Regions from separate parts of the Homo sapiens genome. Here all the other regions are linked to region 1. The links are contacts of gene promoters, found by promoter capture Hi-C in human tissues and cell types (Jung and others, 2019). All regions are on one chromosome and are shown on one strand. Each heading gives the region's core, a stretch centred on a gene start or on the middle of the fragment in contact. The rest is flanking DNA. Distances are from core to core; before and after follow the strand shown.

Region 1 (3,428 bases), core at 314-2,813:
GTTACTGAAGCCATCAATTGACATTTATTACGTCGCTGAATTTTTAGGTTCTTTAATTTCAGTAGAGTTTGAACCTCATCCTCTAATTTCTCCAGCTCTTTATCATCCAGTCTAGGTGTCTTCAAATCAGAAGTTTTACACGTTTTAAGAGCTTCATCCAATGCCGCCCCTTCTAGAATAGGCTTGCCTGATTTCTGAAGAATGCTAAAAGCTTCCAATTCTCTTTCAGACAACACGTTCTGTTCATTCACATTCCCACAAAACCACTTCAGAAACGATTCATCTTCAACGCCCTCAAACAACCAGTCAAAGTCTTCTCCATTAAGATTATCAGCTTTGGGATAACCAATTTTTTTTAATGTTTCCACAAACTCATTTCCACAACTCATGGTTTTAACTACCCCAATTTTGTTGTATCTGATATGGGTTTACGGTGTTGATTTTTAGAAAATAAATCCAAGCAGAAAAAAAGCTACGTTTTATACCAAGTCCACAGAGAAGGGAAAATATATTTTTAGAATCTATAATGATTCCTCCTAGGGGGGAAGAAAACAAGTATTAGACCACAAATATGACGACAGTGTTTTTAAAAAGAAGACACAGACAAATATCACATGATATCCGAGAGCGGGATAAATGACAGGTAGTCGTAGCTGCAATGTTTGATGATGATAAAGAGAAACAGAAACAATTAGGCTAGTTCTCAGAAAACCGCAACAGTAACGAAAAGTAATTAACAAGAAAGTGGATCTATTTGGATCCATTTTATCTTTTTTTCCAAAGATAAAATGGTTTAAAATGCATTACACTTTATAGAGCAGCATTTGTTTTTAATTCAAAATAAATGGATCCAAACAAACCCAAGCCACCAGGAGGCTAGGCAGCCTCTCTTCCCTGCCCTCCGTACGTAAGAAGACGCAAATAAGCATGGCACATCTTCTGAAGATCAACTAAATATTTACCTCAACGTCTCGCCGGGCAAGGCTCCACCTCCAGAGTCCACCACCGCGACGCGGAGAACAGCAGGAGCAGCAGGGAAGCGCGCGGCCACAATTAAGGGTGCTTCGGGCCGGCCTTCAGCCAGCGCTGAGGCAGCCCCGACGCCAGGGCCGCGCGAACCCCAGAGGCAGCGGCAAGCCCCAGGGATCCGCGGCCCCAAGGCCGCGATACACCAGACGCGCCAGCGGCAAAACCTTCCTTCGGAGGGTCACCCAGCTGTGACACCTAAGCACGCTGACAAAACAAACGCACAAGCCCACCGAATCGCCGTCGACACCGAGCTGCAGAAGACGGGGGTGACAGGCCCCGCACAGCCCCCGCCCCAGCTCCTCGCCCAGCGGACCGGGCCCTGATCCCCGGGCAGCTGCTGGAGCACCTGGAAGGAGCCCCCAGGAGCGCAGGAAAAAAAAGAGGCACCTGGGTGCAGACGGGGATCGCGGCCACTCCTCCAGCCCCACACCCCTGCGCCCAGAACCGAGGCCCGCGTCAGTCACCTCAGGAAGTTCCGCTTGCTTCTCGCAGGAGCCCGCCGCCACCGCCCTCCGTGCCCCGCGCGCCTCGCACTGCCTCACGGGAGCGCCTGGACGCGCGCAAGCGCACAAGGCGACGGCGTGGTCGTGGGGGATGACTGTTTGCGCAGGCGTAGTGTCAAAAGAGGCGGAGTCGGCGAGGCTGGACTATGGGGTGGAGCTGAGCAGGCGGCGCTCGGCCCCCGGCCGCTGCGGGCATCCTGCCTCCTGGGCGGGGCGCAGGGCAGAGAGAGGCGGGGTCTGGGCCGGGAAGGGCGGGGACAGGGCCTGGACAGGGGCGGGGCCTGGGCAGGGGGCGGAGCCTGGGCAATGAATGGGGTGCAGAGGGGTGCAGAGGGGTGCGGTGGGGCGCCCTCTGGGGAGCTGAAGCTGCGGGCCTGCTCTCAACGGAGCCGTCAGTTGTGCTTCAGGCCTGCCCTGCCCCGTACTTCAATCTAGACCCTCTGAAGGCACTTTTGAATGGTACAAAGAGCAGCGCAGGTTGGTGGTTGGGAGACAGGCTGGAGCCCGGCGGTGATAGCGCTCGCCCCCGAGAGAGACGAGTTCCCGGAACATTCACAGCAGCCCGACCAATGCCTGGTACATTTTAAGGGTTAGGGATTGTTCGCTTAGAGTCTTTTACAATGAACTTTATTTTGCAAAAACACTTAATTTCTAATCCCTCACCAGAACACTATGTAAAAGCTGACTTCTGGCCGGGCGCGGTGGCTCATGCCTGTAATCCCAGCACTTTGGGAGGCCGGGGGGGGGGGGGGGGGGGATCATGAGGTCAGGAGTTCGAGACCAGCCTGGCCAAGATGGTGAAACCCCATCTCTACTAAAAAATACAAAAATTAGCCGGGCGCGGTGGTGGGCGCCTGTAATCCCAGCGACTCGGGAGGCTGAGGCAGGAGAATCGTTTGAACCCAGGAGGTGGAGGTTGCAGTGAGCCGAGATCACGCCACTGCACTCTAGCCTGGGCGACAGAGCAAGACTCCGTCTCAAAAAAAAAAAAAAAAAAAAAGCTGACTTCCTCCACAATTCCCTTTTCAAAATGTTAGAAATAAACGGAATGGCCTGAGTTAAATACATCGATATATTTAACTCAAGGAGGATGGTACACCATTTCCAAAGAGGATGGCAGTCAGTGAAAGATGACTGAAACGGGATTGCTAAATTTCATGTGAATCTGGCTGATGCCCTACAGCCCAGTGAAACCAGACCTCTCTATTGGACAGAATTCGTTTGCATCTCTACCAAACAAAAATCCTTTGCCACTCCTCAGTCTTCCACAGGTTAGCAGGGGCTTTGGTCATGGGTAAATATAATAGTACTCCCTCCCTTCAGCGTCAAATGACCCTAAAGGTGGCTTGTTAGACAATGTCCTAGTCCAGGGTGACTAGGTAGAAGTCGTTTGGATAGTTTTTCTTAATATTTTTAAGGAGAGAAATAAGAATGTTCTAAGGCAAATATTGTAATCTGATCGAGTCAAAGATATTTCCTATTCATTCTTCACTTGTTTCACGTTTTTTTCCTCCTCTTTTAAAAGTCAATAAGGCCTAAAATGATCTGAAAAACAAACATGATGGGAAAAAATTCAAAGAGTGGTGCCCAATCTGCAGGCAAGGAAACCAGGGATGCTGGAACGGGGAGGCCTGGTGGGAGGACCCTTGCAGCCCAGGGTTGGAGGTTGGGGGTGTGCATCAGGGGGCAGAGTTGAGCCAGTTTGGACAGGAGGAAGTGGGAGCTGTGCAGGCAATGCCTTCCAGAAATGTTGCTGATGAGGCAAAGACTGGGTGGGAGGAGTGTGACACAGAGAGAGAGATACAGAGAGACAGAGAGAGACAGAAACAGAGAGACAGAGACAGAGAGACAGAGACAGAGACAGAGAGACACAGAGAGACAGAGACAGAGAGACAG
Region 2 (3,428 bases), core at 649-3,148, 210 kb before region 1:
TGGCCGGATTTGAAATCCTGGGTTGGAAATTCTTTTTTTTTTTTTTGAGATGGAGTCTCGCTCTGTAGCCCAGGCTGGAGTGCAGTGGCATGATCTCGGCTCACTGCAACCTCTGCCTCCTGAGTCCCGGTTCAACCAGTTCTCCTGCCTCAGCCTCCCAGGCAGCTGGGATTACAGGCACGCACCACCCTGTCCAGCTAATTTTTGTATTTTTAGTAGAGACAGGGTTTCACCATGTTGGCCATGCTGTTCTTGAACTCCTGACCTTGTGATCCACCCACCTTGGCCTCCCAAAGTGCTGGGATTACAGGTGTGAGCTACTGCACCTGGCCTGGAAATTCTTTAAGAACGTTGAATATTGGCCAGGCGCGGTGGCTCACAGCACTTTGGGAGGCCATGGTGGGTGGATCACGAGGTCAGGAGATCAAGATCATCTTGGCCAACATGGTGAAACCCCATCTCTACTAAAATACAAAAAATTATCCGGCCGTGGTGGCATGTGCCTATAATCTCAGCTACTTGAGAGGCTTGTAGTGAGCTGAGATTGCGCCACTGCACTCCAGCCAGGCGACAGAGCAAGACTCCGTCTCAAAAAAAAAAAAAAAAAGAATGTTGAATATTGGCCCCCAATCTCTTCTGGCTTGTAGGGTTTCCACTGAGATGTCCACTGTTAGTCTGATGGGCTTCCCTTTGTAGGTGACCTGGCCTTTCTCTCTGGCTGCCCTTAACATTTTTTACTTCATTTTAACCTTAGAGAATCTGATGATTATGTGCCTTAGGGTTGACCTTCTCATGGAGTATCTTATTGGAGTTCTCTGGATTTCCTGGATTTGAACGTTGGCCTGTCCTGCTAAGTTGGGGAAGTTCTCCTGGAGGATAACCTGAAGTGTGTTTTCCAACTTGGCTCCATTCTCCCCGTCTCTTTCAGGTACTCCAATCAGTTGTAGGTTCAATCTTTTTACATAGTCCAATAGTTCTCGGAGGTTTTGTTCATTCCTTTTCATTATTTTTTCTCTAATCTTGTCTGCCTGCCTTATTTCAGCAAGACAGTCTTCAAGCTCTGATATTCTTTCTTCTGTTTGGTTGATTTGGCTGTTGATACTTGTGTTTGCATCATGAAGTTCTTGTGCTGTATTTTTCAGCTCCGTCGGGTCATTTATGTTTCTCTCTAAACTGGTTATTCCAGTTAACACCATCTGTAATGTTTTATCGTGGTTCTTAGCTTCTTTGCATTGGGTTAAAACATAATCCTTTAGCTCAGTGAAGTATATTATTACCCACTTTCTGAAGCGTACTTCTGTCAGTTCATCCATCTCAGCTTCAGCCCACTCCTGTGCCCTTGCCGGAGAGGTGTTTTGATCATTTGAAGGAGAAGAGGCATTCTGGCTTTTGGAATTTTCAGCATTTTTGCGTTGGTTTTTCCTCATTGTGGATTTATCTACCTTTCCTCTTTGAGGCTGTTGACCTTTAGATGGGGTTTTTGTGGGGTCTTTTTTGTTGATGTTGTTGTTGTTGCTTTCTGTTTGTTTTTCTTTTATTTTCTTTTTTTTCGTTTTTTTTGAGATGGAGTCTCGCTCTGTCACCCAGGCTGGAGTGCAGTGGCGCGATCTTGGCTCCCTCACTGCAACATCCACCTTCCAGGTTCAAGCGATTCTCCTGCAGCCTCCCAAGTAGCTGGAACTACAGGCGCCCACCACCACGCCTGGCTAATTTTTGTATTTTTAGTAGAGACAGGGTTTCACCATATTGGCCAGGCTGGTCTCGAACTCCTGACCTTGTGATCCACCCTCCTCAGCCTCCCAAAGTGCTGGGATTACAGGCGTGAGCCACTGCGCCTGGCTGTTTTTCTTTTAACAGTCAGGCCCCTCTTCTGCAGGTCGGCTGCAATTTGCTGGAGGTCCACTCCATACCCTGTTTGCCTGGGTATCACCAGTGAAGGCTGCAGAACAGCAAAGATTGCTGCCTGCTCCTTCCTCTGGAAGCTTTGTCTCAGAGGGGCACCGACCTGATGCCAGCTGCAGCTCTCCTGAATGAAGTGTCTGGTGGCCCCTGTTGGGAGGTCTCACCCAGTCAGGAGGCATGTGATCAGGGACCTGCTTAAGGAAGCAGTCTGGCTGCCCCTTACCAGTGTGGGTGCACTGCGCTGGGGGGAATGCCCCCTCATCCAGGTCACTGGGACTCTTGGGAGCCAGCAAGCAGGAAAGATTAAGTCTGTCCAACCTGAGACTGCGGCCACCACTCTCCCCAGGTGCTCTGACCTGGGGAGATGAAAGTTCTGTCCGTAAACCCCTGGCTGGAGTTGCTGGAACTCCTGCAGGGAGGCACTGCTCGGGTGAGAAGGGATGGGTCTGGTTCCCAGTTAAAGAGGCAGTCTGGCCACAATCTGCCACAGCTGCTGTGCTGCGCTGTGGGGAATTCTGCCCAGTCCAAACCTCACAATCTCCCTAGCACTGGCCAGGGAAAACTGCCTCCCAGGTTCAAATGACTCTCCTCCCTCAGCCTCTCGAGTATCCAGGATTACAGGCATGCATCACCACACCTGGCTAATTTTTTTTTCTATTTTTAGTAGAGATAGGGTTTTACTGTGTTAGCTAGGCTGGTCTCGAACTCCTGAACTCATGATCCACCCACCTCAGCCTCCCAAAGTGCTGGGATTACAAGTGTGAGCCACCACGCCTGGCCTTGTAAGCCCATCTGTTCTGCCCATTTACTTTCCTCAGGAGTACAGTAGGGTGCTGCTGGCATGGGTGCAGTACCTGGCATTAGTCCGTGGCCTGGAGCACTGGTGTTCTTCACCTGTGGCCTTGGCTGTCCTGTCCATCAGGGCATTTCCTCCGGGATGATAGAGGTGTCCCCCTTTTGGTGTCCCCTGCAGTGAGTAACTGCCACCTCCTTTGGGAGCTGGACAGCATCTACAATTCCAAGATCTCAGAGCAATGCTGTGTGGGGGATTCCTTAGCTGTTAGCGCTCCCTTTTCTTTCCATATGGCGTCATGAGCGTGGAGCACCAGGCACCCATATTTGGAATCGGTAAATATGTTGACTCTTAAGTCTTTTCTCAGTTGGAGGACCCTGATTAGACCAATTAATTCCACTTTTTGAGCAGATGTCTGGGGAGGTCAAGCTTTGGCCTCAATGCCTTCTTCTCGGCTAACTACTGCATAACCGATCTTTCTTTCTCCCTTATGAATAAAACCACTTTCATCTCTGAGCCACTCAACATCGGGGTTATGCAGGGGCTCAAGGGCTCATCTTTGAGGTCAGGCCTGCTAGAGGAGGTCTGTTCTATGGTTTCCACACAGGAGTGAATGAGTTGGGGATCTGTTTCCTGGGACACGAAGTCCAGCAACAAGGGAGAAGAGTTTAAAACTCGACATACTTTAAGGGTAACATCTGGGGTGTCATGCAGAAGGGTCTGATATTTCAGT
Region 3 (3,428 bases), core at 643-3,142, 160 kb before region 1:
CTGGGGCTGGATTCCGCCAGGGCGCTGCGGCTCCACATGCTCCTTGGAAACGGGTGACACACACCTTGGGCAGATGATGCCTCAAATCTTGGTGATGTGAGACCTCTGCTGAGGCCTGCTGCCCCCAGACCTACTGCCAGCCTCTCCTGTGAGGTGGACACAGGCAGCTCGCCTTGTGCCCCCGGGAGGGGACGTGCGGCGTGGGTAACTCACAGGATGAGCTGCTGGGAAGGATGGGGTGTCAGGGGGTCCCACGCACTCTGTCCTCTGTGTGACCTTGGCTCTGTCTCCTGGATCGAGTCTTCAGGGGCAGGGGTCACGTCCTATCTTCGCCCCTGCTGCCCGTCCTTGGCTGGCACAGATGGGCACAGCGGGCCCAGGGCCCTAGGGAGCTGGTCTGCATGGGCGTCCTTGCCGGGCAGTAGTCACGGGCATGTGACGGAGAGCCCCAGCTGGGATAAGGGGCAGCCTTCAAGCCCCAGGGTACAGGTGGGCTGTGCTGGCACTTTCCACAGGGGATGTGGACTTTGCAACAGAGATTTCCGGTGACCTGCCCCAATCCGCCCTTCCTCTCTTTCTTCATGTTGGCCCCTTTGTTGCTGGGTGGGGTGGAGGTGGGGCTGTGTCCTCAGCTACAAAGGACATTTCCCAGGCTCTCTCTCAGGCAGGGTGGCCCAGGACTGCATTCCCTTCAACTTCCAAGGAGGCTATTTTTTTTTTCCTTAGCAGGGAGGGAGGTAAGGAGTGGGAAGGAAAAGAGACTCCAGGAAAGTCCTAAAAGGGAAGGCTCTTTAAACGGCTGACTGTAAAGGGCTGCCAGGGGCAGATGCTCTTCTGACCACTATGACTTTCTCCTTTGCCTGCAAGGTGTGAGGGCTGGAGCAGCCACCTCCATCACAGCACCAGGAGGGAATGGCCAGGGAGCCAGAGGGACTTCGGTCCTGCTGCTCTGAGCCTCTGAAACAAAGCAACCACTGTTCTCTGGACTTCTCGTGATGGGAGAAAAGTCTGCCTTCTGGAGTCTGAGCTGCTGTAGCTTGGGCCTGTGTTCCTGACGGCCAAGTGCACACCCTCCTGGGTGTACATCCACAGGACACTACGTGGGCCCAGACAGCGGTACACTGGTGCTCACACCCTCGAGCAGGCTGCCCCCAGGGAGGGGGAGGTGGGCCTGTGCTTCATGTGCAGCCTCTGGCCAGGGGCCGTGGGCACTGCCCTTCCAGAAGTCAGAGGGGCGACAGAGCCCCAGGCTGTCAGCACCAGCAAGCTTGTCTTCAACTAACTTCAAGGCCTCAGGCAGAAGTCTTTGTCTCCCAAGAGGACTTACTTTTCAAATGGGCAGAAACCTCAGAAAAGGCACTTGTAACTTTTTCCAGATTTAGCAGAAGCAGTTTTCACACTTCTTGAAATTACATTGTGAAATTCTGAGCTGCTGGTGTGGCAGGAACCTAAGAATAGGTGCAGTTGTCAGTCACTCACACATCATTCTCGCAGCCACTGAGACATGACCGCGCTTCTAACTGGGAAATGGGGCACAGGTGAAAGAAGAAGGACGTCTGTCGTCTCCGTGTGGGGTGGATGAATGCAGGGCCTTGGATCCTGTTGTGTTCCGGAAGGGAGTGGACCTCTGGTGCAACTTCTCATCCCTGTTCCTGAGAGGGGTCGGCCACAGAGCTGCTGTGTTCTGCATCTGGATGGCCTGACTGAGATCACTGCACCAGTAGGAGAATGTTCCAGAAGAGCCTCACCGTGTTGCCTGTCTGGGGCCTGCAGGGGCAGCTCCCTTGCAAGGGATGCCCCCAGCCCTGCTGAACTGCTCTGTGGACTCATCCTGAGTGTGGGCGCATGGTGGCCTCATGCAGACCCGCCTTGAGAAGGCCCAGGGGAGGGACCGTCACAGCACTGACACGTTCTGAAACCCAGGAAGGCCTTTTCATAAAGGGCCTGCACCAGAAGAGACAGACAGGACAGCCGAGCCATGGCACAGAGGCCTGTGAACGCTGGCCACCGGCCTCCTGCTCTGAGCCCAACCTCTCTGGTCTTTTTAGGATCTGGACCAAGAGGCACAAACGAATGCCATTTCCCTGTCACAGGGACTGTGGGTGGTGAATGCAGACTGTCCTGTGGCCCCAGCCCACCTGGGCAGACCCTTGGGGTGGCCAGATGAATCTTCTTCTTCTTTTTTTTTTTTTTTGTTAGACAGACTCTCGCTCTCGCCCAGGCTGGAGTGAAGTGGTGCGATCTCAGCTCACTCTAGGGGCACCGTGTGCCTCCCAGTGATCGAGTTTCATGCCTGCTGCTTCAGCGAGAGATGCCTGGCCACACTGAGCCTGCACCCGTCCCTTCCAGACGCCATCCACAGCCTTTCACATTACTCCTGGAAGAACAAATCACGTTCACAAAACACAGACCATGTGCCCAATATTCCACACGAGTCTGCTTTGCATTTTGCTATGAGAAGCATTTCCTCGTGACAGCCAATGGCTGATGACAGAAGGATGACCAGCGAGTAACTGCGTTCCTGAGTAAAAGTGTCTGTGTCCAGCTTTCAGAAGGACTCAGTCAGCAACAGAGAGAGACCTCAGCTCCTCACATGCCAACTTCCTTTATCAATTCCACAAGGGCTGAAAGTGAACCGATTTTTTCTTTTTTTGAGGCAGGTTCTTGCCCTGTTGCCCAGGCTGGAGTGCAGTGGTATGATCATGGCTCACTGCAGCCTTGAACTCCCAGGCTCAGGTGATCCTCCCACTTCAGCCTCCTGAGTAGCTGGGACTACAGGTGTGCACCACCATGGCCAGCTTTTATTTTGTAGAGACAGGTTTCATTATGTTGCCCAGGCAACACATATGTTGTTCACAAACTTCTGAGCTCAAGTGATCCACCCGACTCGGCCTCCCAAATGCTGGGATTACAGGTGTGAGCCACTGCGCCCAGCCTTGAATCAACTTTTCTAGACTTGCAGTATCTTAGAGGCAGGACCACCATTTGGCTTTCAGTTCCTGCCAAGACGGAAACTAGCACAAGCTGCTCATATCCTGGGAGAAGCTATAATTTACCTGCAGAAACTGTGGAAGTGAGCGGGATGCATGGATTTCAGGACACCATGAGAACACTGTGGGGCACTAGAGGCTGCCTGGCATCAGTGTATATGCGTATATGTGTGTGCATGGGTTGTATGCATGGGTGAACACGTGTATGGGTGCATGTGCTTGTGTGTGCGTGTGTGTGCACGTGTGTGTTGGGAATGAATGCAGATGGCAGTGAGATGGGGCAGGAGAGGACTGAGAGTGAATCTTATTTTTTTTTCTGTTAGACAGAGTCTTGCTCTCACCCAGGCTGGAGTGCAGTGGTGCGATCTTGGCACACTGCAACCTCCACCTCCTGGGTTCAAGCGATCCTCCTGCCTCAGCCTCCTGAGTAGCTGGGAT
Region 4 (3,428 bases), core at 324-2,823, 150 kb before region 1:
ACTCAGACGTAACGGCAGATGACAGAGATGAGAGCTGACTGTGTGCCAGGTATGGCCCCATGCACCCTATGAGAGCATTTTCCCAGGAGGAGATGGCACAGGGAGGCGGAGGGCCTTGCACAAGGCCACACAGTCAGGAGCTGATAGGGTTGGGGATCAAGCCCAGGCTGCCGGGCCCAGGACTGGGGAGGTGATGTCCTGCCGGCAGAGCAGAAGCAAATGTTATGTTTGCAACACAAGATGCAGCAGGATGCAAGGCAACAAACTCTCATATAATTTGGCAGAGTGATGCCTTCCCCCAAGACAGAGGCCCCAGGGAGGTTCAGGGGTGCAGCACAGAAGAGGCTGAGAGGAGGCAGTGGACCAAGCAACTCTGAGGAGAATCAATCCAATGTCACACTACTGTCACTCACAGAACCTAGTTCTTTAAAACAAAGTTTCTTAGTCTATTTTCCAAAAACCATGTATACAATCAAAATGTTTTCAAAAGTGGAGCTGAGACCACCAAGTCCACTAATTTGTTCCTGTGTCTTCTCTGTGCCAGGCAGTGAGCTAACGTGATGAGCTCCTATCTTTGAGGTACTCATGTTTGAGCTGGGGCATGAGACCATGAACAGGCGAGTGGGTGCCCAAGGTGTGAGGCCCATGTGGCAAGGAGCTGAGACCACCTCCGGCTGACAGCCAGCAAGAAACAGAAGCCAGCCAGGTGCGGTGGCTCATGCCTGTAATCCCAGCACTTTGGGAGGCCAAGATGGGCAGATCACTTGAGGTCAGGAGTTCAAGACCAGCCTGGCCAACATGGTGAAACCCCATCTCTACTAAAAATACAAAAATTAGCCGAATGTGGTGGCAGGTGCCTGTCACCCCAGCTACTCAGGAGGCTGAGGCAGGAGGCTTGAGCCCAGGAGTTGGAGGTTGAGCCAATTTTGTGCTCAATGCAGTGAGCCGAGATTGTGCCACTGCATTCCAGCCTGGGGGATAGAGCAAGGTTCTGTCTCCAAAAAAAAAAAAGAAAGAAAGAAACAGAAGCCAACAAAGTGGATCCTTCCCCAGTCAAGCCACAGATGTGATCACAGCCCCAGCCAACACCCTGACTGCAGCCCCTGCAGGGGACCCAGCTATGGCATGCCCACACCCAGAGAAACTGTGAGATAGTGTGTATTATTTTAAGTTACTACATTTGTGGCAATTTGTTACCTAAGAAATGGGTAACAAATACTGTGGTTGAGGAAGGTTGCACAGGGGAGAGTTGAGCACAGGTCTGCAGAAGTGAGGGATGGGTTCTGGTGGTACAGGGGCAGGTGTTCCCATAGAGGGAAGAGTAGTGCAAAGCTCTGAGGTTGGAGCTGGCCTGGCTGATTGGCTGTGGTTCTAGACAAGCTATCCATCCACAGTTTTGGGGCGGGGCACTCTGGACGCTTGTTCAACGGCACCACATTCTCAATGGAGACTGTAGGGCAGCTCTTAGGGACAATCTACTATGTGCTTGCCCCGTTATTCTTCCACTGAAGCTTGTTTGGTTTTGCTGCCTTTCTGTGAATAAACAAAGGGTTTCCATGGCAGGATGGTGAATCTTCTTTTCAGGGTCTTTGCACAAGCCCTGCTACCCAAAGAAGAACTGATCACAGGGAAAAGGAGGTCTGAACAGGCTTAAGAAGGAGCTGGCTGGCTGGGGAAACTAGGCCATGCTGATTCAGCATGACCCAGGGCCAGAAAAGAATTAAAAAATCCCAGACAGCCCATGTCAGGGAGTCCAAGGGAGAGTAGAAGAAGGGTGAGTGGAAGAGAGTAGAAGGCCTGCTCTGACATGGGTATTGGGGCTAGGGGGTAGGGGGAAGGAGGGAGAGGAGCAGAAACAGGAAGGGAAGCAAAAAGGGGAGGGGAGGGAGAGGCTTGCAGAAGAGGCCCCAGGCAGCCCAAACCTCTGGCCTTCAGTCCTTCCTGGCCTAGCCCCGCTTTCTCCTATCTGCTACCCCTGAGATTGGACCCCTACTGCTCTGCTCCCAGCCCAAGGCCTGGCTCTGCCCTCTCTGGGGTGCTTTGGCTGCATGGCCCAGCTGGGTGAGCTCTGCCCTAGGGAGATGGGGTGCATGTTGAGATGTGGCAATGAGTCCAAGCGCTGCACACCTTGAGGCTATCTAACTTTATAATGCCTTGGCATGTGTGTGGACGAGGGTCTCCTCGAAGGTCTCCAAGCACAGCAGTGGTGCCTAGCACAGTGGTATGGTGTAGGGGTGGAGCCAACGGCTTGGTCACACTTGACCTGCCCAGCTCCGCGGCCTCCCCTGAGAGGCTGGATGTGACTCTGAGCAGGTCAAGGCATGGGGTGGTCTGGCCAGTGTCTGGTGACTGCAGGTGTCATCAGAGCATAAACAACACCCAGGGACTCACAGACGATTTCTGAGGCACAGCCACATTTAAACACAGGCACACAGCTGCCAGCTTACAGGTAACCCCGAGACCCCAGCTCCCGGCCCGCAGCCTACCTGCTCCATAGACCACCGCGTACACCACCTTCTTGGTTTGCTCTCTGTCTGCGTGTGTCACCTGTTCCACGGGCACATCCTTCCTGCATGGAGAGACCATGTGTGAAGTTCAGGCACAGAAGGCACTGTCAGTGCAGGGCAGACAGTCCAACCACACACCCCACCACTGTGCTTCCTCTGGAAATTCCTTATGCTTTCATGGTGGCCGGCACACTGGCAGGGGAGACATTCCATACCTGTGGTGTCAGCTCAGCAAGGGCCCCAGGCAGATGCCTTCGGCGAGGCTGCAGCAGCTGCTGCCAGCCAAGCACCACCCCACGTTCCCAGGTGTCCACAAATCAAAACCCAAAACTGCTTTCACCAAAGGCATGCCCATCCAACTTCAGGAAAGGCCGTTCCCCATATTGGGGTGCCTGGGCCTGGGCCACGTCTGTGTCTGCTGCAGTGGGGGAGCTGGTTTCTAGGCCTATCTAGTCCCACTGCTTGACTGGATGAACAACTCTGTCCTGGCCTCCCACAGACAGAGGCCATGGGGGTGAGCCCCACCCTGGAGCTACAGCATTCAGATAGAATAAGGATCAACTCAGCATCTGACTGGCATGTGAACCACAGCAATCTCCAGAGATTAAAGCTGAGACATCTGAGTAGCACAGGAGCTCCAGAGCACTCCCAGCACCACCAAGAGTCCCTCCTCCTCCGAGAGCACCTTCAAAGGACAGGCAGCCTGACATGTACCCTCGGTGCCACCTCCTGCCTGCTGCTTTTGTAAACATCCTTATCATCTACACCAGGCCTCCCTGATGGAGTGGGCATCTCAGATTCAGAAGCCGAGAGAAAGAGAGAGAGAGAGAGAGAGAGAGAGAGAGAGAGAGAGAGAGAGACACACAGAGAGAAACAGAAAAAGTAACAGAAACTTCTCCCAATCTGTTTTGTGGATGGCTT

Evidence for each region. The method cuts DNA at HindIII sites, captures the fragments that hold promoters and counts their contacts. A contact is called where the count stands out against the background at its distance.
Region 2: a fragment that was not itself captured here is called in contact with the fragment with the promoter of HAUS3 in region 1 in 4 of the 25 tissues and cell types used here (IMR-90 fibroblasts, hippocampus, lymphoblastoid cells and 1 more).
Region 3: a contact is called between a fragment that was not itself captured here and the fragment with the promoter of HAUS3 in region 1, in 1 of the 25 tissues and cell types used here (dorsolateral prefrontal cortex).
Region 4: a contact is called between a fragment that was not itself captured here and the fragment with the promoter of HAUS3 in region 1, in 2 of the 25 tissues and cell types used here (hippocampus and mesenchymal stem cells).

The regions. Positions count from the first base shown.
Region 1 is chr4:2,240,558-2,243,985 of GRCh38, forward strand. HAUS3 (HAUS augmin like complex subunit 3) reads right to left here and starts at 1,564. Exons shown (of 6, transcript NM_001303143.2): 1 at 1,494-1,564; 2 at 963-1,233; 3 at 1-536. The coding sequence starts at 389. It overlaps POLN (DNA polymerase nu), which reads right to left and starts at 1,564. Exons shown (of 26, transcript NM_181808.4): 1 at 1,494-1,564; 2 at 963-1,233. It also overlaps the pseudogene COX6B1P5. RefSeq lists enhancers at 747-1,248, 855-954 and a silencer at 1,635-1,994. The HindIII fragment of the contact is 17,295 bases long and covers 1-3,428 here.
Region 2 is chr4:2,031,611-2,035,038 of GRCh38, forward strand. All of the region lies in intron 1 of LOC124900839, which reads right to left. Among named protein-coding and RNA genes, the nearest start is that of NICOL1, 8.7 kb to the right of the region's middle. The HindIII fragment of the contact is 6,531 bases long and covers 1-3,428 here.
Region 3 is chr4:2,076,295-2,079,722 of GRCh38, forward strand. The region is part of intron 23 of POLN (DNA polymerase nu); the gene reads right to left. Among named protein-coding and RNA genes, the nearest start is that of NAT8L, 19 kb to the left of the region's middle. RefSeq lists an enhancer at 1-514. The HindIII fragment of the contact is 4,114 bases long and covers 1-3,428 here.
Region 4 is chr4:2,093,365-2,096,792 of GRCh38, forward strand. It overlaps POLN (DNA polymerase nu), which reads right to left. Exons shown (of 26, transcript NM_181808.4): 20 at 2,487-2,569. Among named protein-coding and RNA genes, the nearest start is that of NAT8L, 36 kb to the left of the region's middle. RefSeq lists an enhancer at 1-422. The HindIII fragment of the contact is 8,327 bases long and covers 1-3,428 here.